Linked DNA regions of Homo sapiens: all the other regions are linked to region 1. The links are contacts of gene promoters, found by promoter capture Hi-C in blood cells and fetal thymus (Javierre and others, 2016). All regions are on one chromosome and are shown on one strand. Each heading gives the region's core, a stretch centred on a gene start or on the middle of the fragment in contact. The rest is flanking DNA. Distances are from core to core; before and after follow the strand shown.

The links. Contacts are between HindIII fragments. The CHiCAGO score rates a contact against its expected background, and 5 or more counts as called.
Region 2: a contact is called between a fragment that was not itself captured here and the fragment with the promoter of KCNH1-IT1 in region 1, in 11 of 17 cell types (endothelial precursors, M2 macrophages, megakaryocytes and 8 more). The highest score is 20.4, in endothelial precursors.
Region 3: a contact is called between a fragment that was not itself captured here and the fragment with the promoter of KCNH1-IT1 in region 1, in 6 of 17 cell types (endothelial precursors, M1 macrophages, fetal thymus and 3 more). The highest score is 9.3, in endothelial precursors.
Region 4: a fragment that was not itself captured here is called in contact with the fragment with the promoter of KCNH1-IT1 in region 1 in 2 of 17 cell types (erythroblasts and M0 macrophages); the score reaches 5.7 in erythroblasts.
Region 5: a contact is called between a fragment that was not itself captured here and the fragment with the promoter of KCNH1-IT1 in region 1, in 1 of 17 cell types (M1 macrophages). The highest score is 6.1, in M1 macrophages.
Region 6: a contact is called between a fragment that was not itself captured here and the fragment with the promoter of KCNH1-IT1 in region 1, in 2 of 17 cell types (M1 macrophages and endothelial precursors). The highest score is 5.8, in M1 macrophages.
Region 7: a contact is called between a fragment that was not itself captured here and the fragment with the promoter of KCNH1-IT1 in region 1, in 12 of 17 cell types (M1 macrophages, M0 macrophages, M2 macrophages and 9 more). The highest score is 26.3, in M1 macrophages.

The regions. Positions count from the first base shown.
Region 1 is chr1:211,131,207-211,135,470 of GRCh38, forward strand. It overlaps KCNH1-IT1 (KCNH1 intronic transcript 1), which reads right to left and starts at 2,168. Exons shown (of 2, transcript NR_046784.1): 1 at 1,982-2,168; 2 at 1,073-1,820. KCNH1 (potassium voltage-gated channel subfamily H member 1) reads right to left here and starts at 2,942. Exons shown (of 11, transcript NM_172362.3): 1 at 2,661-2,942. The coding sequence starts at 2,739. RefSeq lists silencers at 732-932, 2,159-2,349, 2,844-3,123. The HindIII fragment of the contact is 10,582 bases long and covers 1-4,264 here.
Region 2 is chr1:210,450,005-210,454,268 of GRCh38, forward strand. All of the region lies in intron 7 of HHAT (hedgehog acyltransferase), which reads left to right. Among named protein-coding and RNA genes, the nearest start is that of HHAT, 120 kb to the left of the region's middle. The HindIII fragment of the contact is 1,741 bases long and covers 1,156-2,896 here.
Region 3 is chr1:210,477,940-210,482,203 of GRCh38, forward strand. All of the region lies in intron 8 of HHAT (hedgehog acyltransferase), which reads left to right. Among named protein-coding and RNA genes, the nearest start is that of HHAT, 150 kb to the left of the region's middle. The HindIII fragment of the contact is 1,866 bases long and covers 1,594-3,459 here.
Region 4 is chr1:210,507,910-210,512,173 of GRCh38, forward strand. The region is part of intron 8 of HHAT (hedgehog acyltransferase); the gene reads left to right. Among named protein-coding and RNA genes, the nearest start is that of HHAT, 180 kb to the left of the region's middle. The HindIII fragment of the contact is 353 bases long and covers 1,903-2,255 here.
Region 5 is chr1:210,539,806-210,544,069 of GRCh38, forward strand. The region is part of intron 9 of HHAT (hedgehog acyltransferase); the gene reads left to right. Among named protein-coding and RNA genes, the nearest start is that of HHAT, 210 kb to the left of the region's middle. The HindIII fragment of the contact is 1,636 bases long and covers 1,614-3,249 here.
Region 6 is chr1:210,561,840-210,566,103 of GRCh38, forward strand. The region is part of intron 9 of HHAT (hedgehog acyltransferase); the gene reads left to right. Among named protein-coding and RNA genes, the nearest start is that of HHAT, 240 kb to the left of the region's middle. The HindIII fragment of the contact is 3,046 bases long and covers 781-3,826 here.
Region 7 is chr1:210,579,896-210,584,159 of GRCh38, forward strand. The region is part of intron 9 of HHAT (hedgehog acyltransferase); the gene reads left to right. Among named protein-coding and RNA genes, the nearest start is that of HHAT, 250 kb to the left of the region's middle. The HindIII fragment of the contact is 3,706 bases long and covers 239-3,944 here.

The DNA.
Region 1 (4,264 bases), core at 918-3,417:
ACAGCTCTATGATATTCCGGGCATCAGATATTCAAATAACCCAAAATGAAGTCAGTACTATTATTCATTATCATATGAGAAGTTTTTAAAGGATGATAAAAATAGTTCCACAGACTAAGTCATAAAAGCTGGAGAAATTATAATGCTGAGAGAAGGATATATGATAGATGTCCTCTAAGGAATACCAGCCTCAGGCATTGTTTGCTCTGCCACTTTGAATAAGCCACTTAATATTCCTAGGACTCAGTTTTCTGATCTGTAAAAGAGGAACATTAATACTGCACAGGACCACTGGGAGAAAATATCTAATAAAATGATCATAAAATATTGCTATTCAAAGGTAAAATGCTATTTTAATACCGTAATGTCCAAAAAAGGGCTCATGGATTTTAGAATGAGACAATCAATATCTTTAAATAGACTTTTTCCACCACAGTAAAATAATATAATGCATGCAGATATTGTGATATTTCTAGGAGTTCACATTTTTTCTTCCATTTGTGTTCAGGAAATATTATAAAAGGGATCACCTTTTAAACATTGAGTCCCATATTTCAAGATGAGAACCATTTATTCTGAAATAATAATTTTAAAAATTCATCCAACTCTCCCAAGATGCTTCATTTTTTTTGATGCTATTCATTTGATTGGTTAATTGAAATCAACCTGCTGAAACTGGTGTTGAAATGACAATGCCCATCCTAAAAATATTCCCAGTGACTTATTCTATTCACATTCTATGATTACAGAGGGAAAGTGGCTCTAATAAGATCAACTAAAATAGACAGTATTCTGCCTTCACAGCTCCAAGATTCTTAAGGTTCCCTTAAAACCCAAGGCATCTTGTGACTTTTACATGTAAGTTTCTCTTCCTGCTCCCTCCACTCAAAAACATACACAGTATACATTAGGTACTGGGTTTCCCCTCTAACTTACAGGGCACTGCCTCTTTACTGAAAAATAGAATTGTCATTGATATTTATGAGAAAGTTGGTGTCACTGACAATGGGATAACCAAATTTGCAAGATTGTCTCCATACCCCTTAATAGTCCAATAAAAATAGCAATAATAGCACAGTAACTCTTATTTTATTTAAAAATAAATGAACAACTCCAGCTTTTTTATGGCAAAACAGTTCATTGTGGCTGTTCACATAGCAATTATCATCCCCTTGCATCCCCAGGTAATGACTGTGACCTTGACCTAAAAGCCACCTTAGTTTGAATAAGGAAGACCTTGAAAGGAAAGGTGACTGACCAGAAACACTCTTAAGAGGCACACAATAAAGAAATGATCATTTCTAAGAAAGTACTTAAATAATACGTGATTATTTGCTATGCTAGTTGATGTGTTTCATTATAAGATAAACTTAAATCACTGTTTAATTAAAGAGTGTTTATTAGTAGCATAAGTCACTTTTCATGCCCTTCCCCTGAATCCCTAACTAAATCCAAACAGAAGCTCATCATTTTACACAGAAGCTCCTTAGACTCTGAAATCGTGATATTTACACATTATTAAAACCCATTTCCTAAGTTAGCTCCTCATGTCTCCCTGGTAGAAGAATGTCATCTGTTTCTGGAAGGGGTGGGGTGGGGGCTCTAGGAGTCTGCAAAGAGCATCTTATGCTTGGCTATCTTTCAATATAGCCATTTGATGAACTCGTGCGCTGCGCCTTCCAACTGCCAGGACTCCTAGTCGCTCTGCAAGTGCTTAGTTGGGGTCTCTCCTCTGTTAAGTCCGAAAGGCGTTTGGAATTCTTCCTTTCCATCCCCGCTCCTAGGACTCTCGCCTCTCAAGGCTTCATGCTACCGTCGATCTTAATGCCACAAGGAAACAGATGAGTGCTGATTGTCAGTTTATTGGGTAATGGATCTATTTATAGGTTTGGTGAGATTGGGAATTTATAGGTGAGCAACACTTAAGGGTGGCATAAAACCGTTGTGGGTTTGGAAGAGGGGAAATATAACAGGTTTGTACCTGTGACCATTTAGTTCGCTCTGCACCTGTGCCCTCCACTTCCCACCTGACGCCAGGAAAACCATCTGCCCCTCACTTCGAAGGTGAGCCTTAACTTCACCTAGAAAGTGGTGGGTGGGTGAAGGGGTGGAATCAGGCCGCCGAGAGCACGTCCCGACACCTCGGACTTTTCAGTTGCAGGGATGGAAGGTGGAGGCAGCCGGATCCTCCCATTCTGAGGCAGCGGGGACCTGGAGTTGCCCGTCTCTACTGCTGGCTCTCCCTGGGGAGAGGCGGCGCCTCTGGGAGCAGCCCGGGAGCCCCAGAGCCTTCGCGGAAGGGTGGGCAGTGCCGATGGGGCGCGCGCTGCCGCTCCGGCTGCAGCCAGCTTTCCATCACTTTTCCCAGTACTTTGCTCAGCAGCTGTCACGCATCCTTGGAGATAAGACCGAGAGGGCGCTAGAAAGGCCCAAAAGGCGTCCCCAGAAGAGCTCTCCTGTTAGGATGGGGACCCATCAGACCCCGCCCCGCCCTGCCCACCTTTCTCTGCCTCGGGGAGGCTGCCCTGGGTGCCCGCGCCGCGGCTCCTTAGCAGAGCTCGCGGGTTCTGCTGCATCTGCTGGCTCCGAGCGGCGAGAGGTTCTGCAATAAAGGCACGGATAAAACGCCCGGGTAATCGAAATCCGAATGCACCTCTTACCATTGGACCGCCGAACAATATTCTCCAGAAACGTGTTTTGAGGGGCCACTAGTCCCCTCCTGCCCCCAGCCATGGTCATCCTCCCAGCAGCTCGGGGTCCGGCGGGCGTCCTGGCGCGGCTTCTTACGACAGCAGGAAACTGGCCTCGGGGCCCGCACGCAGTCCCGGCTCGAAGCGCCCCATGCGCCCGGCGGGGATCCGCAGGCAGGGCTGGCGGCTCCCTCTGGCTGCTACCCTCGCGCCCTCTTCGCGCCTCCCTCCCTGCGGCCCGCCTCGCAGTGCACTCGCGCCGGCCTCGGCTAGCGGCAGCCGCCTCCGGGTGGGCGGAGGGAGCAGCGGCGCCTGGGCCGGCGGCGCCCCCTACCGGGCTCGTGCCCCACCGCCGGCCTGCGGGAGACCAAGCTGGGGGGCTCCCGCAGAGGCAGGGAAGTGGCGGGCGGCCGTGGACCAAGGCTGGGACGGCAGCGCCACCCTCTGGGTTCAGCCGGGAAATGTGTTCAGGATGTGCCATGGGCTGGGTGGAGAGGAGGGCATTGTGAGCAGCTTTCAGGGCGGATTCACCCCCAACAAGTCTTAGGGGAGCGTGCTGATGTAACTCTCTTCCTTTGCTCTGTTTCAGGCCGGGGCCCCCGGGACCTGTGAGGCTCTGGGAACACCTTCTTGCCTTCCTGTAAGGTTAGCCTGACTAGTGAAAGTTGCCCCACCTTGATTCTAGGCCAGTGTTTGAGCAGTAATTAATGAAGTCGTATTGCAATAGTGCAGATTTAGAGTGACTGGCAGATTCAGCTTCAGAAGAGTTGTCTTGGGTTGTTTTTACCGTAGACACAAATGCAGGCTCCTGATGTTTGGTATGATCAGTATCAAACTGCCTGACAAACATCAAAGGGGTGGACTTGTCTCTAAGGGCGAATGCTCAGGAGAGGGGCAGCATTAATTAAGCAACCGTGGCTTTGGCTTGAAGGGTAGTCTGTAGTGCAGAGGATACAGTTAGTTTTTACAGCTGACCCCTGGTATACGGAAGAACCACATACACCCAAGGTTTCTGGACAGGGGCTAAGACAACGGTCGTTTGTTCACTTATTTTGGGGGATTTCGACCCACACATAGTCTGTACCTGCCTTTTTACTATGTATCCCCAGTCGGTGCGGTGGGAGACTAAGCCTATGTCCCACAGGAGAAATGAATGGAGAGTTTACTAGTTTCAGACTGAGTCAACAGTCAACACAAAAATGTAAGAGAAAAAAAAACTAACCCTGAAAATTAATTGTCTGGGTTAGCCATCCTGACATATCCTAATGTATTGCAAAGACATCCTGTCTCAGTTAATTAATTTCAAAAACAGAAGAACTAATTCTTGCCCAGAAATCTCTCAGAGTTGCTGTGAAGATCAAGCAAGAATTATGTATGGGGACAGCACCTTAAATTGTAAAGTGCTGTGCCAAGGTCAGACGTCATTATTGGAGTGACTAAATAAATTGGGCCATTACGAATATCACCCTTTATCTCGTCTTGTGTAGAGACAAAGTAAACAGATTGCTGTTAGCAGAGAGTTGGATAAGACTGTCATAGGATTTGAAATGCAAGTAATGATACACTTTTTCCTT
Region 2 (4,264 bases), core at 776-3,275, 680 kb before region 1:
AGAATATGGGCTTGGCGTGGTGGCTCACCCCTGTTATCCTGCACTTTGGGAGGCCGAGGTGGTTGGATCACAAGGTCAGGAGTTCAAAGCCAGCCTGGCCAACATGGTGAACCCCATCTCTACTAAAACTACAAAAATTAGCGGGGCATGATGGTGGACGCCTGTAATTCCAGCTACTTGGGAGGCTGAGGGAGGAGAATTGCTTCAACCTGGGAGGCAGAGGTTGCAGTGAGCCAAGATTGCGCCACTGCACTCCAGCCTGGGCGACAGAGCAAGACTGCGTCTCAGGTGGGGGGGGTGGGAAACAGTGAGGATATGGCCATTAAAGCTATTGGGAAGGGTGCCAACTGGGGAAAATGTATGGAAGATCTGCATAGATCACTGGAGCCTTGGATACATCCTGCTTTTCAAACATTTCTTCTGTGAAAGGGAAGATGTTCTGAGTGCAACTTTCCTATTCTGAAGGATTAAAAAATTATTTTGTATCTTATTTTTAAAAAAATTTTTTTTGAGATGGAGTCTTGCTCTGTTGCCCAGGCTGTAGTGCAGTGGCATGAGCTACCGCACCTGGCCATATCTTTTATAATTGGTACATTGTAAATCTTTTTTTTTTTTTTTACATACCCCAAGGACTGTGACAATAGCAGAGGGCACATTTTATAATGAATCTACATATTAAATAAATATATAGATAAAATGTACAAACAGCTTTCCCCTGGAATGCTAGCAAATTTGAAAATTAGCTGAGGATTTATCTTTTGAGGGAGCTTTGATAACTGGCAGTAACGTTTTTTCTCTTCTACTTCCTACACTATGGGATAGGGTGGTGTTAAGTTTTGTTAAAAGTGCGGGCAGATCACGAGGTCAGGAGATCGAGACCATCCTGGCTAACACGGTGAAACCCCGTCTCTACTAAAAATACAAAAACAAAAATTAGCCGGGTGTGGTGGTGGGCACCTGTAGTCCCAGCTACTTGGGAGGCTGAGGCAGGAGAATGGTGTGAACCCGGGAGGTGGAGCTTGCAGTGAGCCGAGATCATGCCACTGCGCTCCAGCCTGGGCAACAGAGCGAGACTCCATCTCCAAAAAAAAAAAAAAAAAAAAAGTTGTTTGTAGCACTATTTGTGGAAGTATTTTTAGCAGAACTCTGCAGAGAAGCTTGGAGCTTGGTTTCTCTGGTAGGGAGTATTAGATTGGGTCTGGGTCGCCGCTGATCTTTGCTCTCAGACTAGCAGAGCATTGTTTCTTCACAACTAAGTTGTGCTTATCAAAATGATAGCAGTCTTTAGCTAATAAAATGAAAGGTCACTTCTGTGGCATAAGATTTCTCTTTGAAATTCCCTGCATGTTCTCTTTTTGGATAACTCAGTGATGAATGTCAGAATGAATTTGGAACATTACCTTTGAAATTCTGCCACAGAACAAACTGAACGAGAAAGGTGACTTTTTTTCTTTTCTATACCTGAAAATCAGAAAATATTAATGAAATTAGTATTTGGAAAATTAAAACAACAGAAAGGTAATTTCTATTTTTCCAAGAAAACTGCTATTTACACTTTGAAATATCTTTTTATATTTATATTTATTTATTTAGAGACAGGGTTTCACCCTGTTACCTAGGCTGAGGTGCAGTGGTACGATCATAGCTAACTACACCCTTGAACTCTTGGGATCAGGTGATCCTCCCACCTCAGCCTCTCAAGTAGCTATGACTGTGGGCATGCATTACCATGCCTGACTAATTTTTAAATTTTTTATAGAGACATGGTTTTGCTATGTTGCCCAGGCTGGTCTCCAACTCTTGGTCTCCAGTGATCTTCCTGGCTCAGCCTCCCAAAACATGATATATCTTTTAAAAAATGGGAAAAGAAAGTAGGGTATGGAACTTGTAACCTAGATCTCTAAAACTTGACTGGGCATAATTTTCTAGTGCTTGTTTTATATAGAGATTTCAGATCTCTGGCTCAGATACTAAACAGAATCTTTCAAGGAGAGGCTAGGATTCTCTGTGATTATTATCCCAGAAGGTGTTTAGGACCAGATGAATTTCAGAAGTGCTGTTGTAATTGCTAAAGATCACCATGGGGCATCTTGTTATAGAAAGATATTCTTCTTCATAGACTGCCAATTCCCAGCGATCTAAGGACTGATAAGCTAATTCATTATTCTGATCCTTGGCATTCTCCCCCTTCTCCCTCCCATAATTCGCCTCTCCATTTTTCTATTTTTCATGCTTTCTATGCACAAAGGCTGAGCAAGGAGGTGGGATTGTGCTGAGATAAGCCCATTTTGCTCATTGCCCCCTGCACATGCATTCAATTGGTAGTGAGGAGGAAGTTGAATATTTAGGGTTCAGGTGGGGGCTCTCAGTGCCTCCCCTTTTAGAATATTGCATTCTGGAAAATTAAAAGCATAAATGTAGAATTAACCCTAATGTATTCATCTCCCAGGTTCAACAATTATCAACTCCTGGCCAGTTTTCTTTCATCTGTACTCTCTCCCGTATTGTTTTGAAGCAAATCCCAGATATCTTATTATCTATGAATATTTCGGTAGTATCTCTAAAAGATAAGAACTGTTATATTCTTTTGAACTTCAGAATCTTCTAAGAAAACAGAACATGGCAGAGTGGAGCTATACCCTAACTAGGCAGAGCCTAGGATTAAGAGGAGCAAAGACAGTGACTTGAGGTTTTTCTTTAAAAGAGCTCAGAAAGGTAATATTTCTTCAATTTATTATTGAATGGTGCTTCTCTATGGTAAATCCATGGTAAATCCAGGTATATGAGTTTATGGGAGAAAAGAGAGCTTTAGCAAGGGATTTGAGAGTGAGCGAGGAGATAGAAAAGTGAAAATAATTGAAAGTTGGTTGTTCTTACATGGCAAAGTTTATAATAAAGCTTTGTGGAATGTACATTAGAGTCCTTTTTGAAAGACTTAATTGTTCACTGATTGGAGATTAAAAACCTGTCTAAGTGTAAGTAATCAGAGTTTTTTAGCTCAGTGTTTAAGTACCAACTGTTGTTGAAATAACGCCTGTGCACCTATCTAAATGGTAATGAAATGCCAGCAAAGTTATCCATTTGCTTTTTCTCATTCTACAACATAACAGTGAGAGGAAAGGGATAAGACATTTGACGTCTGATCCTTGTTTTGAAAGCTGGGGAGACAAACATATATCAGTTAGCATAAGATTCCTTTCTTTTTCCCCTCTTTTGAGGCATTAAACATTCTAAGGTTCGTTAAGATACAGTAGAAAAAATTTTTATAAATTTTCTTCTTGGATTAGAATCCTAAGGTTATTTAAAATTAATGCAGTGTAAACCTAAAGCTACTCTGGGATTTACTACTCTGGAACTTGACTGTTCAATTACAGATATTCTATGTAGTGTGAAGATAATTTCATGGTGCATGCTTGCAGAATGGAAGAGATGCCTGCTTGATGTGCTGTTATAAATATATACTGAAATGTAGCAAGTTGCAGCACAGTTATTTAAAATACCCCCTATTCCGTGCCTTCCCTTTCCCCCTTTCTCTCCTTCCCCCATAGTCCCCTCAGAATACCATGATCTTTGTTCATTCTTAACTAACTCATTATTGTGCTGAGGTAACTTGGTGTACGGACAACTTCTTAGATGCAGAAAATACTTGTATGTTTCTTTTAAACCAGGTTGACATATGGAAATCTGAATTTGTTGGATACTTTGAGGGGGGTAATTATTTGCTTTCTAAAGGGATTCTTTACTTTTTTGAAGGATTTGCAATAGAATCCTTTAATTAGTAGTTAATTTCCAATTCAGTCTACACATAGATTTTACAGAGCACTTCTTTTAGGCAAAGTGAGTGATGGACTGTATTAGTTTGTTTTCACACAGCTGATAAAGACATACCCGAAACTGGCAATAAAAAGAGGTTTAATTGGACTTACAGTTTCACATGGCTGGGGAGGCCTCAGAATCACAGAGGGAGGTGAAAGGTACTTCTTACATGGCGGTGACAAGAGAGAAATGAGGAAGAAGCAAAAGCAGAAACCCCTGTTAAACCCATCAGATCTTGTGAGACTTACTATCACGAGAATAGCGTGGGAAAGACTGGCCCCCGTGATTCATTTACCTCCCGCTGGGTTCCTCCTGCAACACATGGGAATTCTGGGAGATATAATTTAAGTTGAGATTTGGGTGGGGACACAGCCAAACCATATCATGGACTCTGCCTGAAAATGTGCTTTTTAGAATTTTCAGACATTTTGCCCTGTGTAAAGCTCCC
Region 3 (4,264 bases), core at 1,277-3,776, 650 kb before region 1:
TGGTGGCTGACTTAATTGGTAGCAGTAATTGTCATAGCAATATATTTCCAAGATTCCTTGTATTTATGTTGCAGTTGGGATTAGGTCCCCTTCTTGCAGTCTGGTTTTAATGAAAAAACTGAGAGCTAAGATCTTAGGTTCCCCAGGATTTCTCAAGTGAGTTCCTACTACAGAGTGGGATGTGGTATATTTGAGACAGATGTATTTCCTCCTGAGTTGTGTGGTCACTCACTCTAATAGGATTGATCCAGAGGGAAATTCAAGGGACTGGTTTTATATGTTATGTTTTTTGTGTGTTTCATTTTCTATTAGATAGCAGATTTAATTTTCCGAAAGTTTTTAGCGAGATCATTTGCCAATATTTGCCTTTGGCTCAATCATGATCAACTAAAATGTGGCCTAGGTGCCTTCCTTCCTCAAGGCTGTTGGTTGTGAGAGTCCTATCAGTAGAACCAAGAAACTGGACCAGCCCCTTTCCTGGTTTGAGTAAAGACTTCAATTAGAGTTATAAGTGGAATTTGGCTGTGGTCCTTGGCTATTGGGATGGTGAAATAGGAAGGTGAGGGGCCGAATCTCTGGAATCTAAGAAAATCTTTAGCAGCCTAAGGGTTCTAGGTCTCTTGCCTGTGCTTCAGAGGAGAGGGAAGGATGTTAGGTGAGGTGGAGAGTGATTCTCTCCCACTCTGTGAAAGCATCTTCCTAGTGGAGCCTTGACCACAAGGGACTCTTCGGCCCTTTTCCAGCATAATGTAGGCAGAAAGGAATTTTCCTTATGACAAGTAGGGACAGGACCTGCCCTCAAGAAATCTATGCAGGCTGTTCTTGTGTGAGTTTGTCATATATGCACCTCAAAAGTGCCATTTATCCAGTCTTAGATGGATACTCTGGAACTGTTGGCCCCGAGGAATGTGTCATGAAATGTTTTTCTGGTGCTGGGAAGCATTTTTCTGGACCCCTTCCCTCCATAATGAGAGACAAGCATCTGGGAGAGGGTTTGCAGAGTGGTGGCATCTGTGTCATGCCATCTGACCCGTGTGGGCTTAAAGTGTGATCTCTTGGCTGTTGTACTCTGACCACTGAGTGGCTGGTGGAGGTGCCAGCAGCAGGAGTAGCAAACAGTTTGTCAGCTGTTCCCGGGCAAGTTTTATCAGCATCACACTGAACAGAGTGTCCCCTATCGTTTGACCTTTCCCCAGATTATTCTGTAACTTCATATTTGATTCTTGGATGGTCTAGATTATTCTCATCAATACTTCGCTTACAGACTATTTAGACTTGTTGTAGAGCCTCTCAGAATGAATTGTACCTGAAAGTCCAAATTCTCTTTGGTCAAGGAGTATTTATTGAGCACCTACTATGGGCCAACCATTGACAAATGTATATGATACAGAGCTGAATAGAGGAGTCCCTGCCCTCAGGGAGTTAATACTGACAAGTAATGTGTCACAAGACAGGCATGACCATCACTGAGTCTCCATAGCCCCTGAATGTTTAAAAACATTTCCACATCTATTGTCTCATTTGTTGGTTCAGTAGATTAGTCGGAGAAGGCCTTGTTTTTGTCATCTCCATTTTATTGATGAGAAAAATAAAAGCTTAGGTTAAATGATTTGCCCAGAGAGGAGAGTGGCAGACCTGAGACAACACCATGTCATCTCCCAATAGCATGTCCTAGTTTACTTGATGTTGGTTTCTGTAACAGTTTACCAGTGATTAGCTTTAAACTGTCATGTCTTTAAAATGTAAATATTGTGGTCAGTGGATACCTTGAAAACTAAATGAAATTACACTAATTCCCTGAAAATAAGTGAAATAAATTGTTTTGTTTGAATAATTGTACGTCACTTTGACATAAAGTTGTTGGAAAAGCAGAGCAATATTTTAATTCATTTAAAAAGCATTTAAGGGAGTTATGTAATGATGTAGTCTAGAGAATAGAGCATGAGCTTTGGAGTCCAGCAGACTCGGAGTCACATCCTGTCCTTACTAGTTCTGTCACCTCGGTCAAGGTACTTAACTTATCTAAGCCTTAGTTTCTCTACCTGTTAATGGGCTAATGATGCCTACCTGCTGGGGTGAAGGTGAGAATTTAATCTTTCTGTATAAATTAAGGTTCATGTTCTGTTTGTTACTGGACATTCAGGCATTAAAGGTGTGTGTGTGTATGTGTGTCTTTTGACTAAACTGACACAATATGAATTACATAGCTATTGGAAGTTCATATGGGGTAGAACAAGGTGTAGTCACCCTCCAGGGATACTGACACCAACGTCCAAAGTGTGCTGGAGGTGAATCAGGATTGAGAGAGACCTCACCTCCGTATTGAAATCCCACGGACAGACTGCAAGCTGAGGAGTCAAAGTTGAGCCAGCAATTAACCCATTTATGCCTGAGGTTGCAATTTTTTGAATATTTGCAATCAGACCTCGGCGATGACATTGAGCAGTAGGATATAAGTAACTCCCACATGCTTCGTGTTCCAGTAATGGAACACTAGCCATAAATAGTTGCCAGGGAAGACATGGAGCTGCAGCTATTGATATGTAATGAAGCTGCTGCTTACATGGGCAACTCTATGGAGCTTATTCCAGGAGGCACAACACCAGGGATTTTAGTTACTAAGGATTAATGCAAATATGATGGTGCTTGGCACCCCCCATTTCTGTTTGGAGCCCGTTACATCCTGCACCCCTTGCTGTCTTGCACTTTCCATCTACAGTCTGCCTCTAGAAACCTGGCAGCTGTCTACCTGGGTTCAGCTTCAGAGCCTGCAGGTAAACTTTGTTCCCCATCCAGCCTCTGCTTCCCTTTAGGCTCAGCTGACCTCTCCCTGATAGCTCCCCTCCAGGAGAGCATTCCCACCTTATTCCTTTATTTTCCTGGATACACTCATGTGGGACTTTTCCTCTAGGAAGGCACTTGTCAGATCTCTGCTTCAGGGGAGGCTGTGACTCCATCCATCTATCCATTCACTGATCGAACAAATATTTGTTGAGTGCCTGTTATGTGTCAGCAACTGTGCTTTGTGCTGGGGATATAGTAGTGAACAAAACAGGCAAAAGCACATACGCTCACATAGCTTACTCTCCAGCTGGTAAGACAGATAATTAACAAACCTAATAAATAAGCGAATGATATGGTGTGTTAGGATGTGTGATAAATGCTATGGCAAAAATAGAGCAGGATGAGGAGGGGGACTTGGAGTTCTGGGGGAAGGGTTGCAGTATACAGTTAATATCACTTTACAAACACTGAATTAATGACCACTGGGCCATTGCTTCTAGGGGAAATACAGGGTTAGGTTCCTGCTAGCCTCTGGTTACAAACTTCTCATCAACTGATAATACATAACTTTGTTTTTTTGAATGTTTCTGCTTAAAGATGCCTTCTTTACCATATGTAGTCAATTCATTCACATTGAACTCATGGCCAACAGCACCATAACTTGTGCTTGAATAAAGCTTTTCTAACACTTGTGTTTTCTCCATAAGGCTCATCACAGCCTTCCAGTACTTAGCAACGCTAGACAGCACTTCATTACTGTGCTTGGGGGTCACTTTTAACAATGAAATCGCCAAAAACACAAAAATGTGAAAAACAAGGCACTAAATAGGTGGTAGAAAGGATACTCCTAGTATGAGAGCTAAAGCATGGAGGTGGCATGGGCCTTGTCGGATCTCACCCAGCTGAGGTCCTCAGCAGCACTTCAGACTTCATTGGGTGATGTACATATTTTGCTGCACAGAACTTGTCTGTGAATGGCCACAAAAGTGCCTCAAGTATTGATTTTAAGGTTACAAATAAATTTTAGTGAGGTGAATTTGCAAATACACAATTTGTGAATAATGAGGATTGAGTGTCAATGAATGATCAGCATAGGCTTCATTGAGAAGGTGATATCTGATGAAGACTTGGAGGAGATTATGGGAGTCATGTGGGTATTTGGAGAAGTGTCCCAGGAAGAAGGTGCAGCCAGTGCCAGAAGTGTGCCCAAAGTGCTCAAGGAATAGCAAGAAGGCCAGTGTGGCTGTCATGGAATATGGAGTGAGCAGGAGAGTGGCAGGAGACGAGGGTGGGGGAGTGGACTTTGTAAGCGATAGTTCATTCTTTGGTTTGTATCTGAGTTAGATGGGGAGATGTGGAAGGGTTTTGAGCTAAGAAGTTTTACAGCACTGTACTGTGTTGAGGCAGAAGCAGTAAACCAGTTAAGAGAGTGCCGGCAGTAATCTATAGCCAAGCCTAGATGTCATCATCTGCTCACCAC
Region 4 (4,264 bases), core at 829-3,328, 620 kb before region 1:
CATAGCATGGCCGGGCATGGTGGCTCATGCCTGTAATCTCAGCACTTTGGGAGGCCAAGGCGAGTTGATCACGAGGTCAGGAGATCAAGACCATTCTGGCTCACATGGTGAAACCCCATCTCTACTAAAAATACAAAAAATTAGCCAGGTATGGTGGCATGCACCTGTAATCTCAGCTGCTCGGGAGGCTGAGGCAAGAGAATTGCTTGAACCTGGGAGGTGGAGGTTGCAGCGAGCCGAGATCATGCCACTGCACTCCAGCCTGGGTGACAGAGTGAGACTCCTTCTCAAAAAAAAAAAAAAAAAAAGTCCTAGCATCACTTCGTACCCCATAAATACATACAACTATAATTTGTCACTATGTAATAATAATGATAATAGAAGAATGAACTCATGATTCTGAAGAAGCTGCAAAAGCCCGCAAATTCTGGTAACATGGAACTAGACCTCTGGTTGGGTAGACCACAGTTTTCTTTTGGATAGAGTCACTTTCTCATATGATACTTAATAAAATTATTAAGTAATGATGAAATAACATTTTTAAAATATCACATAAATTTAAATAACAGTTTATAGTTTTAAATATGTTTGGTTTATTTTTTTCTAATGGGAACAGGATGAAAAGGCATATACATTCTTTAAGCCAAACCTTTAGCGTCGTATCAAATATGTTGCCTGACTTATTGGTGGTGGAGTTGGTAAGATTAAGATAATGGCTCTTATGAAGAGCAGCTTTATGAACCACTTCATTCTTCCAGCCAGTAAGATAGCTATCACTGGTTTTATCATGTGGTCTTGATTTTCATTTTATATATGTTCACTCATTTACAGCTCAAAAACAAAATATATGAGGAAAAACTAATCCGAGTTATAGAAATTAGATTCTGATTTTAGGATGCACTGTTAATTTCTCTCTATACACAAAAAACATGAACTTGTTTGCTTTTCTTTTGCAAGGAGTGTGCTTTTTATCTTTCATTTTTAAAATGTTGAAATAATCTTAAACTCACAAACATTAGAAGCACAGTACCTATGTAACATTTTCCCCCTGAATTATTTGAGATTAGGTTGTGGACATGAAGCATCATCACTCTGAGTACTTCAGCGTATGCTTCTAAGGACACTTTCCTATGTACTAGGTTGGTGCAAAAGTAATTGTGGGTTTTGTCATTACTGTCAATGGCAAAGACCACATGCAATTACTTTTGCACCAACTGAATAACTGCAATATGCAGATTGAATATCCCTTACTTGAAATGCTGGGGACCAGAAATCAGTGTTTTGGATTTCGAGCTTTACAGATTTTGGAATATTTGCAATTATACTAGTTGAGCATCTCAAATTTAAAAATCCAAAATCTGAAGGTGCTCTCATGAGCATTTTTATGAGTGTCTCATTGGTGCTCAAAAAGTTTTAGATTTTGGAGCATTTCAGATTTCAGATTTTTGGATTTGGGATACTCAGCCCTCTAATAACAAAACTCAGGAAGTTAAGGTTGGTGCATTCCTACCATTTATTCCTCAAAACCAAGGTACTGTTCCCTGGGGGGTCTTCTGGCTAATGGAGACTGTCTGGGCTCAGGTGTTAGTTTTACCCCTAACTAACAATCACTTAACCTCTCTATGCTTCTGTTTCTTCCTCTGTGGTGCAGATGATAATAGTATCTATCTACCTCATAGGGTTATTGCAAAAATAATTGTATGTGTGTAGAATGGATGAGTGCCTGGCACATGCTAAGCACTGTGTGTGTGTGTTGGCTTTTACTATTAACATCCCCCCTTCTCCACTCTGTGTGTGCTGCACTGTGCCTGCATGGTGAGAAACTATAACCCTTTACTCTCCACTAACCTCGCCTGCCTTTCTCACATGATCCAAGGAAAGTGAGAGGCAGCATTAAATTAAAGCTTGTGTATATTCTACTCATATCTTGTAGTCATTGCAAAGGCTCTTATATTTACAGGTGATTTTTAAAAAACCTGCTCTTTGTCCCACCTCTGGAGTTAGAATTAGTTCTCAGATACATTCATCCTTTCATGCATTGGGTGTCTATACAGAATTGTCATTGGGAAGTATTTTCAAAGCCCTAAGATGTGCTTTGCAAAGGAAATCTTTCAGGGCTGTAAGAATGGATAATTTCCTGGCTATTAGTTGAATAAGAAAGACATATTTTGCCTTTCAGAGATTGTTATATTTTATAATGCAGAAATGGTTTTGAATATATTTAGTTTTTAAATTTTCAGTAGGTGGTGTGCTAAAGCTTAGTGTCCTTAGCTAGGTCTCATGTTACAAGTAGAGGAGGAGATGGGAGAGGGAATTGGTTTGGCTGGCCACCATTTCTATGAGGAAGGGCACCTGGAAATGGAAAGAAATGAATTGACTACCACATCACCCCCGGAGGCCATGGCTAGGTTGAATGAGAATGATGGTGTTGGCATGAGTTGGATGAACCTTATTTTTTAAAAACTGATAGCCATCCAGACACAAAAGCACAAATACTGTATGACTCTGCTTACGTGAACTTCCATCACTTTCCAGAGCCTGGCTAGCTGAGACGGAGGAGGTGGGCGGCACCTGGGGAGAAGCAGGTGGGCTTCCCTGGAGCAGGGCAGCCATGCTGGGAGAAGCAGAAATGAGGTGGAAGTGGGAAGACATCAGCTTTTAACATGAACCATCATTTTCAATTAGTAATAATGAAAGGCAGTGAGAACCCTGCTTTTAGCAGGGTGCTTGGGAAGAGCAAGTAATTCGTGCATTTTAGGGTTCAGTTTGATTTCCAGCTTTTTTTCTACTGGCTGTCAGCTCTGGGCATACCAGTACCTGCCTCACCAGCATGTATATGTGAGCACAAAACATAGTACTTGCCACATTCTAAACAATAAATATAATTTCTCATTATTAGGTTTTTCATTACTGTTTCAGTGCCTTCCTCTGACCCCACTATATACTGCGGATCTCTGTGATTTCTTCCATGTCTGCTTTGTCCTGTGATTCCCGGAATAGAGTCTGTTGGTCTCTGTCGCTAATGTAATTGAAAAGGCTCTACAAGCTTTGGATGAGTGAAGGAAGCTGAAATCTTTGTTTTAATCTACACATACTTCTACCTCCCATATTATAGATCTGGCAACCTTAAAATTGCTGTCTGTGGTGTGGATATTTATTTATGGGGCTGAACAAAGTAGCCTTGGTTTTGGTTGAGAGAAGAGATCATTTCTATTTTTAAAAAATTTGTGTTAAATATAATTTTAGGAAGAACTTAGCATCTTATCCAGGTCAATGTAAAATCAAATGAAACACATCAGCTCTCCCTACAGGTAGATCTCTCCTTAGAGAAGAGCTCTGTGCAGAAGACTTATGAATAAGTGGAATTTATATATCTCGAATCCCGTTTTTCCTGAATTATGTAATTATTTTAGGTCAGTGATGTAGTAAATGAGGTCTGTCATGTTTTGGCTTTGAGTTTCTTTATTCTCACCTATGCTGTGTCCATTGTCTGTAAAGAGATACTTAAGCACATAAAATAATCTTGTCATTTAAAGGTGTCCCACAGGGAATCTTAGTGTCAGTAATCACCTGTCATATGTCAGGTGGCGAGGTACCAGGCATGATGGGATGTTCCAGGGATGAGTCAAGGGTGTCGCCGGAAGCTAGGGACAGGCAGGGTCTGGACAGGCGTCAGACCCCCCCTCGAGGGTGAATTCCTGTGTCCATTACCTCTTGTCTGAAAGGGACAGAATTAACTCAGGCCCTACTCAGTCAGATGGCCAACCCAAGAGGCGAGACTGGTGGGTGGGATGCAACCACCACCCGTTAGGTGTTGGGAGCAGTGATTCTGCCTGGGGGACTATATCATCATGATTCTGGCCGCCTGGTCTTTTTTTTTTTTTTTTTTTTTTTTTTTGAGATGGAGTCTCACTCTGTCGCCCAGGCTGGAGTGCAGTGGTGTGATCTCGGCTCACTGAAAGCTCCGCCTCCTGGGTTCACGCCATTCTCCTGCTTCAGCCTCCTGACTAAGTGAGACTTCACTGGCCACCTGGTCTTCTTACTCACAGTCCGACCCAAAGGGAGAGAAGGGCACTGGCTACATGATCAGAGGTTCAGGAGGAACAAGCATGCTAGTTAGAGAAACCAAGGCAGTGTCGTTTATATGGACTGTACCAGTTTCGTGGTGTCAGGAAAAGGCTGTGACTTAAAGGGTCTGCCATAGCCCAGCGCTATGGGATGCCTGGTGTGAGCCTCAAGCACAAAGTCAGGCTCCCCAGCTAGC
Region 5 (4,264 bases), core at 1,182-3,681, 590 kb before region 1:
TCCTTTGAATTTTGTCCTGTGTCCTTCCAGTAAATCCTCCTGGATATGAGAGTGTGTATCTGTTCCTTCCACTCAAGAAAAGTTCTTCCTACAAGGGCATTCTCAGATCATCAAGGGCTTATGAAGCATGCCACCTGGCAGCCTTTAATTGAAAACATTGCTTGAAGTACACTAAAAATTATAAATCAAATAATAAAGAAGTGCGAAGGGATTGGATTGCTCTGTGGGACTCTCAGTAGGCTTAATACCTAATTTCTGCCTAAAGTCCTGAGGAGACTGGTCACCCAATAGCCACCCTGATGACTTGGTTACTCTAGTGACATAGAAGATGGCCGAGGGCTTGGTATTTCTTTTTCACAATAGCATCTGGATGAAACTAAAAAGTAAAGAATGTTGTTAGGGATTGTTATTCTCAATTTAGGCAATAATCCTGTAATCTGACATAAAAGATGTTCCGCAACAGCTTTTCTCCCAGGTAGCATTTATCATCAGAATTATAATTGCAGTTTAATATAGTGACAACAATGTAGCAAATATGAACATTCATACAATGTTGCCTTGAGAGAAAACTGGGGAAAAAATACCAAAATATTATGTGGTTTTCTTTGGTGGTAGTAAATAGGAGATTTTTTCCCTCTTACACACACACACACACACACACACACGCACACACATGCACACACACGCACACACACATGCACACACACACAAACACACGCTCTCTCTCTCTCTCTAACTCACCCTCATAGACATACACATAGTGTGTATAAAAATATATATATATAGAAAACACACACTATGTGTATGTTTGCTTCAATGAGTAGTTATTGATTTTTTTTTTTTAAGACATGAGGTCTTGCTACATTGTCCAGGTTGGAGTGCAGTGGCTATTCACAGGTGCAATAATAGCACACGACAGTTTAGAACTCCTGGGCTCAAGTTATCCTCCCCTGCTTAGGTTCCCAAGTAGCTGGAACTACAGGTGTGCCTCACCACACCCAGCTTAATTTTATATTTAAATAAAGTATTGCTTTATTTAATTTTTTTTTTTGAGACACAGTGTATCGCTCTGTTGCCCAGGCTGGAGTGCGGTGGTGCAATCTCGGCTCACTGCAACCTCCGCCTCCTGGGTCCAAGAAATTATCCTGCCTCAGCCTCCTGAGTAGCTGCGACTACAGGCGCACGCCGCCATGCCCGGCTAATTTTTTGTATTTTAGTAGAGACGAGGTTTCACCCTGTTGCCCAGTCTGGTCTTGAACTCCTGAGCTCAGGCAATACGCCTGCCTCGGCCTCTCAAAGTGCAAGGATTACAGGTGTGAGCCACTGCGTCTAGCCAAGTATTGCTTTTTAAATGAAAAAATATAAGACAATATATTTTTATTTTATATTAAAAAAATAGAGACAATACTGAGCAATGTTTCTGAATGAAACCACAATAATGACTTACTAAGAACATCCTGTGCATGGAGTATCATGTTTAGCCACTTGACCAGCATTGTGTCCCCAAATCTTCCTGTGAATCCAATAGACTGTGGGGTTTTGCCATTTTCTAAATGAGGGGAGACAAGCTCTTTGAGGGTAAAGGCTTAACAAAGTCTCACAGGCAGACATAAAGCTTGACTGCTCTAGAAAAGAATACCAGCCAGCTGCGGTGGCTCACGCCTGTAATCCTAGCACTTTGGGAGGCTGAGGCGGCAGATCACTTGAGGTCAGGAGTTTGAGACTAGCCTGGCCAACATGATGAAACCCCGTCTCTACTAAAAATACAAAAATTAGCTGGGTGTGGTGGCGCGTGCCTGTAATCCCAGCTCCTTAGGAGGGTAAGGCAGGAGAATCACTTGAACCCGGGAGGCGGAGGTTGCAGTGAGCTGAGATTGTGCCACTGCACTACAGCCTGGGTGACAGAGTGAGACTCCATCTCAAAAAACAAACAAAAAACAAAACAACAGAAAGAAAAGAATATCTACATTCACAGGGAACTTCAGAGGTTTAGGTGGAATGTCAGCATCCCCCCTGGTCTCCTGGTCTGAATGACTCAGCTGAGGGCCTGGGAACGATTTGCTGTCTGCCCAGTGCCCCAGGCCGACAATGTGAGTGTGGCCTCTCCCTTGGAGAATGTTTCTGCACTGGCCAGGGAGTTCATCAGCGTCAGCGCTTATTCCAGGGAATGTCTGTGACAAGGGTCTGAATGGGGGATAACTGGCCAGTTGGTGGATTCATCTCCTCCTTCCTTCTGCTTTCTCTTTTCCTCTCCCTTGATGTCCCTTTGGCTGTTTTCCCCATCTCCAACCCTGCTTTTTGAATGACAAAGGAAAGTGAAATTCAAACTGTTTCAAGATGAGAGACAGGAAGTTGTCACTATTGACAGACGACAACCTACGTATCCTTATAGGTCTTGATTACTCTTTCTCCATCTGCCTGCCTCTCCCACCTCTGGGCAGGGAATAAATAGGTAGGGGTGGGAGGTTGGCCTCCAACTGCCCAAATTTCTTGCTGTCACCTAAACTGTTACCCCTGGCTTACCAGGGACATGGTCATCCCTCTGGTGTATTTCAAAACACATTTTGATTTCTTTACAATTCAGCAAATGCCTTAGTTTCTTTTCCTGTTTCTGTCATAGCAGTGTTAGGTTTAGGAAATAAGTAAAATTTGGACAGTTTTTGCCGCATCAGTGTTTTAGTTAAAAAAAAAATATATATATATATATATTGGTTGGATGCAGTGGCTTGCCCCTGTAATCCCAGCACTTCGGGAGGCTGAGTTGGGAGGATTGCTTGAGGCCAGGAGTTGAAGACTGGCCTGGGCAATATAGTGAGACTCCATCTCTATAAAATAAAATAAAATATTAGCCAGTCATGGTGGTGTGCACCTGTAGTTCCAGCCACTCAGGAGGCTGAGGTGGGAGGATAGCTTGAGCCCAGGAGCTCAAGGCTGTGGTGAGCTAGGATCAACCACTGCACTCCAGTCTGGTTGACAGAGTGAGACCCTGTCTCTGAAAAAACAAAAATAAAATAATATTGTCTTAAATCATATTAAGTATACGTGTTGTATATATATTATACATATATGGATATATTTATGTGTCTGTATATATTTTGATTGTTTGATTGTTTTACATTTGCAAAAGGTTTAGGGGCTGATCTCAGAGCTGTTTGCCAACAGAGGTAGATTAATATGGCACCGCTGTTCACAGACAGGCATCATGGGGAGAACTGCATTTGCTTCATTGTAATGACCACAGTTAAGCAAAGCTTTTGATTTTCTTTTTCTGAAGCCTTTATGGAACGTTAGTCCTGCCAAGAAAGCGAAAACACATTTAGTGAGTTTGTAATCAGGAGCTGATGGAATAGCCTTTAAAAAAGCAGACATTTTTAAAAAAAGAAATTCAGCTAATTTCATAAATGTGGGTTAACAGAGGCAGGGAAGTTAGGGGAGGATATAGGAAGGGTAAATTTCATCAGTAGGATGGTTTGGCATGCTTTCTCTGAATTTTTTTTTCCTCTAATTTTTCTCTGAAAAATTAATAATGCTCCAGGGTGTTTTTCTTTTTTTTTTTCCTTCTTTTTCTGTGAAAAATTAAGGGAATTGTTCAAATAATCTCTCTTCACTCTTTAAAAACTCATGTCTGGCTGAGCTTGGTGACTTGCACCTGTAATCCCAGCATTCTGAGAGGCTGAGCCAAGAGAATTGCTTGAAGCCAGTAGTTTGAGACCAGGAGTTCAAGCCTGCAGTGAGCTGTGATTGTGTCACTGCACTCCAATCTGGGCCATAGAGTGAGACCCTGCCTCAACCCTCCCCACCCCTTCAAAAGACTTCACGTGTTTTGAATTTTAATTTTTCCAAATTTTTCTTTGAATTCATTTTTGGGGCTCTCATTGTTTCTTCATAGGACCCTTCCAAAGGCCTTCCTGCTATGCTCTGTATTATTGCCTACATTCTTTTGCCTCTAAGTCCATCCTTTCCATGAACTCCTTACCTTAACAGAGCATGGATGAGAATCTAGCAACATCCTCAGAAACCTTGGTAGCTCCTCTCTGCCCATAGGGATAAATTCATCGAGGCCTCATATCCAGTCCCAGCTCACCTTTCCAGCCCTATTTTTCTACCCTCACTGTCTCCACCTTCCACATAATCTAGATAGCTGAAGCAGTTCTTGGTCCCAGAACACACTGTTGACTTTTCTGTTCTCTGCCCTTGGGTTGCAGGTGGCCTGTGAGCTGTCTGTAAGATCCAAGATCTGTCTGTTTCGGGGTCTTTGGCCCTC
Region 6 (4,264 bases), core at 1,054-3,553, 570 kb before region 1:
TGTCAGGCTGAGGATACACTCCCTGAAGGTGGGGACTGTGTCTCTGGCATCTTCATTTTCCTCAATGTGTCCAGCACAGTGCCTGACACCTGATAGTCACTTACTAACTCCTTCCAGTGCATAGTGGCTGCTCATAGTAGATGTTGAGTTAAATGAATGGATGAATATGATGGAGACTAAACAAATACAATGTAAACTTACACCCTGTTGTATCAACCACTACAGAGCACTGGTGTCATGGGCACTGATGAAACCTTAATTATGAGATTACAACTTATAGATATCATTCAATAAACCAGCTCAGTTTTAAGTAGCTGTTGAACACTTAGGAGATAGAGAGTTGACTGCTGTTTCAAGAGCACCCTTTAGTGTAAACAATATTAGCAGCACAAATCAAGCACTAATTAGAGAAGGTAGTTGGAAAGGATATATATTTTTCTAATCTGCATCGTTGACGTTGGGGGCTTCCACTTAAACAACACATTAAGGAATATCACACTCATGAAGAAAAGAGTATTTACCAGAAAGTCTTTTCAATCCAATCACCAAGGGCCAAGGGGTGGGGGGTGGGTAAAGAATTTTGAATTTGCTGCAGATGTCCTGAGGCCATTCATGATTTGGAGAGAGGAGCGGGGCTCCTTGCTTGCTCTTTCCTTTTGCTTCTTTGAGATGTTTCTTTCTGCTGAGGTGAGTCTTTGTCACAGCTAACATCCAACATCTACTGAGCGCTTGCTGTATGCCAGGCATGTTTTGAGCTCTTTGTGTTCAATGTCTTGGTTAAGCTTTATGATATTCCTGTGGTGGGTTTTTTTCTTTTCTTTTTTTTTTATTATACTTTAAGTTTTAGAGTACATGTGCACAATGTGCAGGTTAGTTACATATGTATACACGTGCCATGTTGGTGTGCTACATCCAGTAACTCGTCATTTAACATTAGGTATATTTCCAAATGCTATCCCTCCCCCCTCCCCCCACCCCACAACAGGCCCCAGTGTGTGATGTTCCCCTTCCTGTGTCCATGTGTTCTCATTGTTCAATTCCCACCTATGAGTGAGAACATGCGGTGTTTGGTTTTTTTGTCCTTGCGATAGTTTGCTGAAAATGATGGTTTCCAGCTTCATCCATGTCCCTACAAAGGTGGGTTTTATTGCCTCCACTAAGGATCAGGAGCCTGAGGCTCAGAACGGATAAACTTGGCTCGGAGCCTCGCAACTTGTAAGTGAAGGTAGGATTAGAATCCAAGGGTGAATCCATGCCTTAACCACTATACTTTGAGGCCTCTCCTTGGTTTTAATGCTTCTGGGTCAAGTGATTCCGCCTGTGGTAAGTACCTAGAGGGAATACAGAAGGGTACTGGGCATGTGGGATATAGATTCTGGAACAGATGAGGTCTCAGCCCTGTGGGGTCCAAATATAGCTAAGAAAATGAAGCAGCTGAGCAACTGTATAATTATCCAAACTGTAAGAATTTAGAAATAGCAGAAAAGATCATGTTAGGGGCCGGGGATCATAATTTGGGTTTGGAAGATGGATGATGTTAATCTGAGATGGCTTCCAGAAGGAGCCTAAAGGTGAAATCAGAGTAGAGTGGGGTGGAAGGCAGTTTATGGGATAGTGGGTGGAAAGCACGATGGGGAGGGTTCTTCAACATTGCGGTGGAGTGAAGTCCAGGGAGAGCCTCTTCAGATCCCCTTCACAAGGGCACTCTTGCACAGTGATTCCTGGAGGCTGATCATGGGAGAGCAGGGAGTTGGGAACCACTTCTTATCTATTCAGTGGTGCTCTCAGCAACTGTATGACAGATCCAACTCTCAGCATAGGTGTGAAGGAGAGAACTTGGTTTTGATACTTCTCTGATATTTTCCCCTCAGCCCATTGTTATTCTGTTCCATAACCTCATATTGGGTCTTCACCATGCCAAGTTACTTGGGCTGGCCTCCTCCAGGGTGTACCCCTCACTTCAGCTCTTTTCTCTTCCTCCTTGCCTTCCAATTCATTTGGAAGATATTTCTTGAGCATGTACTGTATGTTAGCATCAGTGTATTATTAGCCTCAGTGAGTGGTTGACTAGCTGGTTAAGGTGATAGATGAACTCATACTACATTGTTTTTGTTTGTTTGTTTGTTTGTTTTGAGATGGAGTCTCATTCTGTCATCCAGGCTGGAGTGCAGTGGTGCAATCTCAGCTCACAGCAACCTCTGCCTCCTGGGTTCAAGTGATTCTCCTGCCTCAGCCTCCTGAGTAGCTGGGGTTACAGGAACGTACCACCATGCCCAACTATTTTTTTTTTTTTTTGTATTTTTAGTAGAGATGGGGTTTCACCATGCTGGCCAGGCTGATGTGGAACTCCTGACCTCAAGTGATCCGCCCACCTCAGCCTCCCAAAGTGCTGGGATTACAGGCATGAGCCACCGCGCCTGGCTTCACTATATTGTTAATGTGCTGATGTGGTCTCCTAGTGTGAGCACGTAGAAGTTAAGAGACAGAACCATGAGTGGTTGCTGATACTTTTAGAACTAGGCAGAGAATAAGTAGCCTGAGAGGGAGCATGAGGAGCAGTGGCTCTAAAGATGAAAACAGAGAGCTCCATTGGAGCCACAGAAGCAAAAATGTGAACAAGGAAAGTCATGTGGAAGGATGCTCATGATTAGGTGAACAGAACAGTTTCCTGAAGTGGAATGTATGCCATCCTATTCTTATAAGAAGTATGTGTCTATGTGTATTTATAGAAAAATGTCATAGAGGACATACACAAAAAGGTCATTGGTAGTTCTGGATTTTAAAAAATACTTCTAAAGGTAAGGAGTACAGTAGTGGTAAGACATAAAGCAGAAATTATCTAAAGAGGAAAGTGGAGGGCACTGTCAATGCACAATGTAATAGATAGGACAAATAAGAGAGAGACACAGATGTAGCCATTGGCTGTGACAATATGGAGGTCTTTGATGACCTTGACAAAAGCTGATGGAATGGGGAGGGGAGGGGAGGGGCAGAAGTCAGACTGCAACAGGTTAAGGAAGAAATGGGATGGGGGGTCACTTAGAGACTGTGTGTAGACTGCTCTTTCAAGGACCTTAAATACCTGCTTTTAAAAAAAGCCATTAGGATTGAGGCTGGAAGAAGTTGTGGATGAAAGAAAGACATTTATGAAATGGGAAAGACTGGAGTGCATCTTTAGGTTAAGGAAAGAACCAGTCAGATAAGTTGGATAGAGATACTGGAGATGGGAGGTGGGAAGGGGAAGCATGGTTCCTCAGGAGGCAGAAGGAGATGGAGCTAACAAGCAGAGTTAGCCTTAGTCGTGGAAAGGACATCTCTTTAACTATGGGAGAAGGGACAAATCGTGAATGGACATGTGCCGATGGTGATAAAGATGATGTATATGGTTCGGGAAGGAGAGGGTGCTCATATGATGGTCTTCACTTTCTCAGAAAAAAGTGGTAGATGCAAGCTCTGCTGTGAGTTAAGTCTGCCCTGAAACAAATGTCACCACAGGCATCCTCAGTATTAGGTTGGATGTAAGCTCTTAGTCTGATCTGGCATGTTCCTGTACATCTCTGATGTGTTGCACAGTATCAGCATGTAGTAGATGCTTAGAAAATATTTGGTGATGATGCAAATATATGGTTAGGAAAACAATGTGGCATTCCTAGTCTGTTCTTCATTATTCCTGTCGTTCCATGAATTCTCCTTCTATTTCTGGCTCCATAATACCAGAGGAACACAAACAAGGAAGTATCTAAAAAAACAGAAACGATGACAGTGAGAGAGTTTGGAATCACAAAGAATGGACAAAGAAGCTGAGAATCTGTAGCAGGCAAAAGCAAGCTTTTGGAGAGACCCAAAAGCCCTCATCAGCTATTTTGCAGGCTGCCAGTTGGTGGGTTGGTATTTGCTCTGTGTTTCTTTGAAGAGGAGAGTCAGGACCAAGCAGTGAAAAGCACCAGGAAGCATGTTTTCTTCAACCTAAGTTGTCTAAAAGTAGAAAGACTGTTTCACAAGCTGAGATCTCCTGGCCGCTAAGAGCGTGGAGGTATAGGCTGGATGGCTCTTGGTGTGGGTGTAGCTCAGGGGTCTCTGGGCAAGACGGCCTCTTGGATCCCTTCTAGCTCTAGCGTCCTCTGTGCCAACTATAGGGGGTCATTCTTGGCCTCTGGACCTCGTGCTGTCATCAGGAGTTTCTACCAGATTTGAGTAGAAATGCACTGAACTTTTTTTATCACCTCATAGTTAGTTGGATACTTTATCTAGATCTGCCATGCTT
Region 7 (4,264 bases), core at 842-3,341, 550 kb before region 1:
TAAGATGGAAGCTACAAGCTTGGGTTCATCAGCACAATACTTCAACTCACTGAACTACCAGCTTCATGGAGCGAAAAGAAAGATTATTTAAATGTTGGCATCTAATTACATTTACCTAGAAGTTGAAGTGTAGGCTAAATATAGCTTGAATTTAATTTCTGTTTTATAAACCCTACAATGTTCTGTTGCCAAAGAGGGCATAGAATTTTTAATAGATAATTTTCAGAATTGCATATGAAGCTTATGTACAGCATCTTTTAGTAAAGGAGCTGAGAATTAGCCCAGCTCAAAATATTTTCCCTGCTTTGAAAATAGACTCCTCTTAGCCTTATGGAGGATGACAAAGCCTGTGGTTGCCCATTAACCAACTGCTGGTTATTACTTGTTAAAATGCTGTTATTATCTCTACTGGACAGAAAAATATTAAAAGCAAATTATATTCCTTTTTGTGTACATCTTCCTTTGAAAACTTTTCTTTCTTTAAAAAAAAAAAGGGGGGATACGTGTACAGAACGTGCAGGTTTGTTACATAGGTATACGTGTGCCATGGTGGTTTGCTGCACCTATTGACCTGTCCTCTAAGTTCCCTCCCCCCACCCCCCACCCCCCAGCAGGCCCTGGTGTGTGTTGTTCCCCTGTCTGTATCCACGTGTCTCATTGTTCAATTCCCACTTATGAGTGAGAACATGCGGTGTTTGGTTTTCTGTTCCTGTGTTAGTTTGCTGAGGATGATGGTTTCCAGCTTCATCCATGTCCCTGCAAAGGACATGATCTCATTCCTTTATATGTCTGCATAGTATTCCACACATTTTCTTCATCCAGTCTATCATTGATGGGCATTTGGGTTGGTTCCAAGTCTTTGCTATTGTGAATAGTGCTGCAAAAAACATATGTGTGCATGTGTCTTTATAGTAGAATGATTTATAGTCCTTTGGTTATATACCCAGTAATGAGATTGCTGGGTCAAATGGTATTTCTGGTTCTAGATCCTCGAAGAATTGCCATACTATCTTCCACGATGGTTGAACTAATTTACATTCCCACCAATAGTGTGAAAGCATTCCTCTTTCTCCACAGCCTCATCAGCATCTATTGTTTCCTGACTTTTTAATAATCACCATTCTGACTGGTGTGAGATGGTATCTCACTGTGGTTTTGATTTGCATTTCTCTGATGCTGAGTGATGTTGAGCTTTCTTTCATATGTTTATTGGTCACATAAATGTCTTCTTTTGAGAAGTGTCTGTTCATATCCTTTTCCCACTTTTTGATGGGATTATTTGTTTTTTTCTTATAAATACATTTAAGTTCCTTGTAAATTCTGGGTATTAGACCGTTGTCAGATGGGTAGATTGTGAAAACTTTTTATAAGTAGATATGTAGCTTCCTTTCTGAGAACTACCTAGAAGATGGAGATTTGGCTGGAGGGTCATCACTGGCTGTGAGAAAGAACACTAAAATGTGGGCCAAGGCCAAAGCTAGAGCCAGGGTTGGGTCAGGGGAGCTACTGCCCATGAGAGCTGGGCTCAGGACAGCACAGCCAGCTCTGTAGAGAAGAGAAACCTGAGCAGGGGCTGGTCTCAGGGCCCAGATGGAGCCAAGGTGAGGTCACCTCACCACCAGTGTAACATGGACAAAAGTCTTGCCTTTCCTAGCCACTAAAGGCTCTGTTCTTTAAAGGACTAGTACTTTTACTTTGGGTGGTAAATCTCTTAGGGTTGGAGTAGTTCCAGAGGTGTGGTGACACATACTTTTGACTTTAGTAGGGTAATTAGGATTACAAAGTGTGGAGAAACTTCAGCATCTTTCAATGCTCTGTATTCTTTAGGAATAGGTGTCTTCCAAAGTCTCCCAGTACCTGGTACAGGACCTTATAATCAATCATCCTTTCATTTCTGTTGCTTATAATGGGTCCATGACAATGGTGACAATTTTTAACAAGTTTAAAAGCTATTCGAGGCTATCAGCAGTAAATGGAAATTATGTTACGTATTTAAGTACTGTTGACTAGTAGCTGTGTAACATACACACGCATACACATACACACATCACATATCTAGTGCTGTCTGAATGAATCTTACAATTGAGTTAAAATGACACCCATAATAGACACATTTTGGTAAAAAGCTGTTCAATCAGTGGAACAGACAGTACACACAGTAGGTTCCTGGGTTAAATTGCAAGTTGGAAAATGCAAAAGAGACTTCCTGGAGTTGGGAAATCAACTGGATTTTGTAGACTGAGTAGGTGTTGGAAAATCAGGGAGGATGGAGCAGTGTCTTCTAGATGTGAAAATGGTATGACCAAAGGCACGGAGCTGTCAAATCCTCTTTTATTCAGGATTTTAGGATTTGTCACCAAAGCCAAGTGGGGAGAAGGGAAATAAGGGTGGAAAGTTAAGGTGGAGCTAGAGTAGGATGTCAGCAACTGCCTGCCCCAGCCCGGCCGAGGAATGGGTAAGTGATTACAGGAAACCAGCAAGCCCACCTCGGCTCAGTGCAGGAAACCGTAGTAAAAGCCATGTCTGTCAGTGTCTGGTGCTTCATCTTCATACTTTGTTGGGGTCTGGGATTAGTCTGTCATAGAGTTAGGTGATAATGTAGCAAGCCAAGGAGCTATTGTATAGGTCCTTGGAAAAAAGAAGTGTTGCGATTTTAAGATTAATGCGTTTACCACATGGATTGTTACCACCCCTGTCTCCCACTGTAGGGCGTATATTTGTGTTGTTTTTCATAGTAGGTATGAGGGAGCTAGATATTTTCTTCTCCCTTTGTGTACCTCTACTCAGCATCACCCTAGCCACCAACTTTTTATGCCCCACTTCTGACACAGGCAGACGTCTGCAGGATGTCAGGGAGTTGAGATAGCAGGTGTTATCTCTGCTTGTGGGACAGAGGGCAACTACTTAGTCTGTTCAAAAGCGGAAGTTATACCTCTTGTCTTCTGACACTGAACAGTGGCTAACAGAGCTCATTGGCTTAAATCCCTTTGTAAATTGTAATCATTATTCTCTTGAGCAAGAATTCTTTCCTAGAAAGGACATTTTTCAGTTAATAAAACATCAGTGGATGTTTCTGTGGAGACTGTTTTGAAGATTTGGTTAAACGAGAAATATATCAGTGAAAGCACCCAGCCCTGGGGTTTCTGGAACTACAACATTCTAGGAGCAGATTTTACCTCTCCTATATAAAATAGGCCTAGTTATTTCCTTGGAGGGTTGTTTTAATGATTAGAAATAGTATGCATAAAGCACCTGGTGCATGGGCACTCAGTAAAGGGTAGAAGTCATCAATACTGTCTACTATTTATATAGATTCCTCCTCCTGAGTTGGGGGTTTGCTGTGGTGCATTGATTCAGTGAGATGCTTTTAAATTAAGAAGGTGGCTGCAGCATTTTCTGTAAGCAGTGACCACGCGAAGCCGGCCAGGCAGAGGCAGGCTTCGTGAAGACTCAACCTGACATAGTCACTGACGAGAAGCAATCTTTTTAGTTTTGCTTTGCTGAGAAGGTGGTGCTGATTGCTTTCTTCCATTGGGAAATCAATTTATTGTGCAGCAAATCTTAGTAAGCAGTTTCATACTATTGCTTTTCTAAAAAAAGAGACATGTTTCTGTTTTTATTAATCATGGAACTGACAGAAGATGGTAGAATTTGTAAAAGAAAATAACCTGTTTGCTCTCCTTTTTACCACACGTACTGTCTTCTATAAATTAGGAATAAAGAAGGGATTTTTATCTTCCAGTCTTGAAGCTATACCCTCTTCTGGTTTGAGACAAACAGCCTCATGTCCTTGGAGACCTGCCATATATGAATTTCTGGAATAAAAGGAATTTTCAGAGATTTTTGTTGGCTGTCATTTTGAAGGCAAAGTAACAGCCATGGTTCCAGGAGATGCCCAAAATAGCTGGGCATGTAATTTTGGGGCTAGATGCTTCCTGATCACAAGCTTGAAAACATGTCCTCCTTGGAGTTGAATCTAAGATCAAGTACCATTGGTGTGGAGAATGAGAGGTTTGTGTGCTATGGTTTTCTGACATATACAGTGCAGCTAATTTTTTTTTTTTTTTTTTTTTTTGTGATGGAGTCTCACTCTGTTGCCCAGGCTGGAGGGCAGTGGTACTTACTGCAACCTCCGCCTCCCAGGTTCAAGCAATTCCCGGGCTAAGCCTCCCGAGTAGCTGAGACTACAGGTGTGCACCACCACGCCTGGCTAATTTTTGTATTTTTAGTAGAGACAGGGTTCACCACGTTGGCCAGGCTGGTC